Linked DNA regions of Homo sapiens: region 2 is linked to region 1. Evidence: promoter capture Hi-C in 16 types of primary human blood cells and fetal thymus (Javierre and others, 2016). All regions are on one chromosome and are shown on one strand. Each heading gives the region's core, a stretch centred on a gene start or on the middle of the fragment in contact. The rest is flanking DNA. Distances are from core to core; before and after follow the strand shown.

Region 1 (2,984 bases), core at 301-2,800:
TGGAGGAAGAGACCGCACATTCTCTACATCTGTGTCTCTCCCTCGCCACCCAGCAAGGCTTTTCTTTCATTCTTCCTTCAGTCGGATATTTATTAAGTGATCACTACCTGACAGACACTTGGGGGGCTAGGGATATAACGATGAAAAAGATGTAATCCCTTTCCTTGAGGAGCTTAAAGTCTAGTGGGGACACTGCTGACGCAAAAAGCAATTCTTTTTTTTTTTTTTTTTTTTTTTTTTTGAGACACAGTCTCGCTCTTGTTGCCCAGGCTGGAGTGCAGCGGCATGCTCTTGGCTCACTGCAACCTCCGCCTCTCGGGTTCAAGTTATTCTCCTGCCTCAGCCTCCCAAGTAGCTGGAATTACAGGCATGCACCACGCCCGGCTAATTTTGTATTTTTAGTAGTGATGGGTTTTCGCCATGTGGGTCAGGCTGGCCAAAAAGTAATTCTAATCAAGTGTGGTAAGAAATAGAGCAGACATGAGCAGGGCGGGAGAGGGCCTCTACCCCAGTAATGTCAGGTGACTATCAGGTGATGGCCAGGCGGTTGTTACACTGTCTTTCTAAAATAATATTGGTCACAGCCAGCGTTGGGAAAGACAGTCTCCCAATAGATAGAAAATACCTGAACTTGGTGATCAGCAGCTTCCTGGTAAGAGCTCAGGAATTGGGCGAGTGGGCTCAAGCATCTACACTAAGAAGCAAAATGGTGGAGTTTAGCTGGTGTGTGTGACCTTCCTCTAGTGCTGCTCCGCGGGTAAGGGAAAAACGCCTCAAGTGAGCATGCGCACGACTTCAGTAAACACACTGCGCATGCGGCCCCTCCCAAGTGCCTGTGCGGCAGGCAGGCGCCAAGTCAAGGGTCTAACAGCACATTTGGGTGTCTCAAGTCACGCACTTGGCCCTTTTCCAAGTGTACTTTACTTCCTTTCATTGCTGCTCAAAAACTTTTTAATAAACCTTCACTCCTGCTCTCAAACTTGCTTCAGCCTCTCCCTCTGCCTTAAACCCACTTCTGCCCCTCAGCCGAATCTCTCCCCCGAGAAGGCAAGGATTGAGTTTGCTGCAGACTCGCTGGATTCACAGCTGGTAACAGTAAGTACCAGGCAGGGGCATCCAACTTAAGGTGTCATGGAAGCACATGGAGGAACCTAATCCTATCTGGCAGAAGCAAAACGAAGCTTCCCGGAGGAAGGGCTGCCCATGCCCAAACTTGATGGACGATGAGATACTAGGCAGGAAGAGTATTCTAGGTGCAAAGGCCAGAAGTTGACAGACTGAGGCAACAGGAGAAGGTAAGTGAATGGCGCAAAGTCACACAGACGCCAAGCTGCAGAGCCAGGCTCACTGGAGTGGAAGCGTGCACTCTCATCTGTGAGGCTAGGCTGTTCCCTGGCCGTCACCTCACCCTTTCATCTCTGCTTACCTGCATCTGGTGTCAAGAATCAGAATGGGAGAGACAGAACCTGGAGAAAGGCTGCGTCTTCAGAGTGGGGCTCCACTCCTCCAGCTCCAGGGCTGGACCTGAAGGTTGTCTTTCCAGGACTCTTTCCAGGAGGGCCAGGGAGGCTCTGTATATACGTAGAGGTCACCCAGGCGTGTGTGTGTGCGCGCCCCCACGCCCCTGCCCACAGGCCTGCATTGAAGGCGCTTCCGCTCCCCGGAGAGCCCTGTCCTGATGACCCACCCTCTGCTCATTTTCATGTGATTCTAAGGCAGGAAACGGGAGACATGGCCTCATGAGCTCCGCTGTCCTGATGAGTCACTGGATGCACCCGTGAGAAACACCTCACCCTCCGCTCTCCCCAGGCAGCAACACTTGCCACACCCCAGCTGTTCCTGTCCTCATCTGCCACCCCGCGAAGAATTTCGGCTCTTTGACAGAACAGCACCGAGCAGGGCAGCCACCCCTTTTTCCTCATCACTCTCCTTACCTTGCCCTTGGCTGACTCGATGTGTTGCATGGTTCCTGTACTAGACGTCTAACTTTTTTTTTTTTTTTTTTTTGAGACAGGGTCTCACTCTGTCACCCAGGCTGGAGTGCAGTGGCATGATCTCGGCTCACTGCAACCTCCGCCTCCCACACTCAAGCAATCCTCCCACCTCAGCCTCCTGAGTAGCTGGGATTACAGGCACCTGCCACCATGCCCGGCTAATGTTTGTATTTTTAATAGAGACGGGGTTTTGCCATTTTGGCCAGGCTGGTCTCGAACTGCTGACCTCAGGTGTTCGCCTCAGCCTCCCAAAGTGCTGAGATTACAGGTGTGAGCCACCGCACTCAGCCTCTTGTTCAAGCCCCAGGCCACTATCATCTTGTACCATACTCTCACCAAATTGCTGAGGATTTTGTGGTGCTCTCTGTGTGGGAGATCCGTGACCCTCTATGGACAAGCTCCTATTCAAGATTCAGTTCAAACATTCCCAGTGAAGTCTGCCAGGATTTCTTTACTCCGAGTTAGGTACTTCTTTCTCTATGCTCCCATTGCATTTTAAACATCTAGATATTATATACAGTAAAGTGCACAAATCTTTTCTTTTCTTTTTTTTTTTTTTGAGACGGAGTTTCACTCTTGTTCCCAGGCTGGAGTGCAGTGGCACAATCTCAGCTCACTGCAACCTCTGCCTCCTGGCTTCAAGCAATTCTCCTGCCTCAGCCTCCCAAGTAGCTGGGATTACAGGCACGTGCCACCACGCCTGGCTAATTTTGTATTTTTAGTAGAAACACGGTTTCTCCATGTTGGTCAGGCTGGTCTCAAACTCCCGACCTCAGGCGATCCACCCGCCTCCGCCTCCCAAAGTGCTGGGATTACAGGTGTGAGCCAGCACGCCCAGCCTAAAGTGCACAAATCTTAATGTTAAAGTCTGATGAATTTTTACATGTATACCCTGGTGAACCAGCACAGAAATCAAGATACAGGACATTCCAAATCCCCAGAGGTTTCATTGTGTCGCCTGTCATTCGTATCCCTTGTCCCCAGTGTTAA
Region 2 (3,074 bases), core at 9-2,508, 86 kb before region 1:
CACTATGCTGAGGTTGAGGACCAGATACACTATGCTGAGGATCAGATACACCATGCTGAGGTTGAGGATCAGATACACTATGCTGAGGCTGAGGACCAGATACACCATGCTGAGGCTGAGGACCAGATACACTATGCTGAGGATCAGATACACTATGCTGAGGTTGAGGACCAGATACCCTATGCTGAGGCTGAGGACCAGATACACCATGCTGAGGCTGAGGACCAGATACACCATGCTGAGGCTGAGGACCAGATACACCATGCTGAGGCTGAGGACCAGATACACCATGCTGAGGCTGAGGATCAGATACACCATGCTGAGGCTGAGGACCAGATACACCATGCTGAGGCTGAGGATCACATACACCATGCTGAGGCTGAGGACCAGATACACCATGCTGAGGCTGAGGACCAGATACACCATGCTGAGGCTGAGGACCAGATACACCATGCTGAGGTTGAGGACCAGATACACCATGCTGAGGTTGAGGATCAGATACACTATGCTGAGGCTGAGGACCAGATACACTATGCTGAGGCTGAGGATCAGATACACCATGCTGAGGTTGAGGATCAGATACATCTCCTTCCTGTCTTCAGGGCAATGAATGAAGGAGAAGGAAAGTAGTTCTCAGGAGGTTTATGAATTTTTGTTTTCAAAAAGCTTTACTCATAAATAAGTAGATTTTAAACCAAGAAATCATACACTGCTGAAAGGAGTATCAGCAACTTTCAAGAAGGGCAATTAGGTCGTATCTATCAAAAGACAAACGACAAATGCTTATAGCTGTGGCCCAGCTTTTCTAATTCTGGGAATTATCTCACAGTAAATATAGATGTTATTCATTGCAGTACTGTTTATAATAGCAACAGTCAGGAAACGACCTACATTTCAACGGAAGATTGAATATAGCATAATACACCCACTAAAAGGTGGGAGGATATATAAACAATTTACTTAGATATTCACAGAAATGGGTAATATTGGTGGCCTGTTATAGGGATACCAGGTGGCTGTGAGACAGGTCTTGAGAGGGAGACATTTTACTTTATGCCCTTTTTGTATTTTATGGATATTAAACTGTGGGAATGTATTGATTTCACTTGATTTGATTTTTTGAGACAGGGTCTGGCTCTGTCACCCTGGCTGGAGTGCAGTGGCATGGTCTCAGATCACTGAAACCTCCACCTCCCAGGCTCAAATGATCCTCCCGCCTCAGCCTCCCGAGAAGCTGGGACTACAGCGCACACCACCACGCCCCGCTGACTACAGCGCACCCCGCCACGCCCCGCAGACTACAGCGCACCCCGCCACGCCCCACTGGCTACAGTGCACACCGCCACGCCCCACTGGCTACAGCGCACACCACTACGCTCAGCTGATTTTTGTATTTTTTGTACAGATGGGGTTTCACATGTTGCCCAAGCTAGTTGTATTTTTATTTATTTATTTATTTGAGATGGAGTCTTGCTCTGTTGCCCAGGCTGGAGTGTGGTGACATGATCTAGGCTCACTGCAACCTCTGCCTCCTGGGTTCAAGTGACTATCCTGCCTCAGCCTCCCAAGTCACTGGGATTACAGGCGAAAGCCACCAAGCCGGGATAATTTTTGTATTTTTATATTCGTATCCCATGTTGGCCAGGCTGGTCTCAATTTCCTGACCTCAAGTGATCTGCCCGCCTTGGCCTCCCGAAGTTCTGGGATTACGGGCGTGAGCCACCATGCCCAGCCCAGGCTGGTTGTATTGATTTTATAATACAGGAAATAAAAATTTTAAATTAAATATACCAATCCAATGAAAAACTAAGAATTAATTAATGGATTTAAGAGTCAGAAAGGTCATAGCTCAAGCTTTGACCAAGCTTTCCAACCAGCTTTCTTCCTCTGTAACCTTAACTTCCTTATGCCTCAGTTTTCTCATCTATGAGAGAAAGCAGGCTGGGTACAGTAGCTCACACCTGTAATTCCAGCACCTTGGGAGACCAAGGTAGGAGGACTGCTTGAGCCCAGGAGTCTGAGACCAGCCTGGGCAACACAGTGAAACCCTATCTCTATTAAAATTATTTTTTACTGCCAGCATGTGTCAACTAAAAAAAAAGAAGAAAAAAATATTTTTAAAAAGATAATTTTTAATAAGACAAAGCAAAATAAAACAAAATTTGAGCATATAATCCCCCTTCTATGTCCCAGAAATCACTGCATTGGCTCTATGCCTATTAAAAAATAATACATTAAAAAGATTTTTGGGCCGGGCACAGTGGCTCACGCCTGTAATCCCAGCACTTTGGGAGGCCAAGGCAGGTGGATCACCTGAGGTCAGCAGTTGAGGCCAGCCTGGCCAACATGGTGAAACCCTGTGTCTACTAAAAATACAAAAATTAGCTGGGTATGGTGGTGGGCGCCTGTAATCCCAGCTACTCGGGAGGCTGAGGCAGGAGAATCTCTTGAACCCAGGAGGCAGAGGTTGCAGTGAGCTGAGATCGCGCCACTGCACTCCAGCCTGCGAGACAGAGCAAGACTCTGTCTCAAAAAAAAAAAAAATTGAAGTATCCCAGAAGTCACGTCCATGAAGTAACTAACATAGTTCCATTTTCCCTAAACAAGTCCAGAGGGGCTATGATCTCACACTATTCGATCCTGAAACACAAGGGATAGAATATACAAATGAAGACTACTTTGTTGTTTCTTTGCTACTAGACAGCATACAGCAGGGAAATTTTGCTCAAGAAACACATTGCCTGGATGGTGGCAATAGCACAGAATGCTGTTGATCAAGTGGCTGCTTGCAGCACAGCTAATCATCCTATGTTAGGCCAAGTAGATCACTGAACCTTTTCTCAGACCAATCCCAGATGCGCCTCTTGCTCTCTCCAGTGCTTCCCCAGCCTACCAACATCTCAACTGGCCACCATTCCATCCCAAGTCTTTGGCAAACCCAGGCTGATATATTAACCAAACGGCCAGAAGGGGTCACTGTTGAACTAGTCTGGGAAGAAAGCTAGCGTTAGCCATTCTTTTACCAAGTGGCTATTGGCCAGGATAAACACACCCCTGATTTAATGTATGTTATA

Evidence for each region. The method cuts DNA at HindIII sites, captures the fragments that hold promoters and counts their contacts. A CHiCAGO score of 5 or more calls a contact.
Region 2: a fragment that was not itself captured here is called in contact with the fragment with the promoter of TM4SF19 in region 1 in 1 of 17 cell types (erythroblasts); the score reaches 5.3 in erythroblasts.

The regions. Positions count from the first base shown.
Region 1 is chr3:196,336,838-196,339,821 of GRCh38, forward strand. It overlaps TM4SF19 (transmembrane 4 L six family member 19), which reads right to left and starts at 1,551. Exons shown (of 5, transcript NM_138461.4): 1 at 1,427-1,551. It overlaps TM4SF19-DYNLT2B (TM4SF19-DYNLT2B readthrough (NMD candidate)), which reads right to left and starts at 1,583. Exons shown (of 6, transcript NR_037950.1): 1 at 1,427-1,583. RefSeq lists enhancers at 1,075-2,274, 1,641-1,935 and a silencer at 1,684-1,855. The HindIII fragment of the contact is 5,119 bases long and covers 1,180-2,984 here.
Region 2 is chr3:196,250,807-196,253,880 of GRCh38, forward strand. All of the region lies in intron 3 of PCYT1A (phosphate cytidylyltransferase 1A, choline), which reads right to left. Among named protein-coding and RNA genes, the nearest start is that of PCYT1A, 35 kb to the right of the region's middle. The HindIII fragment of the contact is 1,188 bases long and covers 665-1,852 here.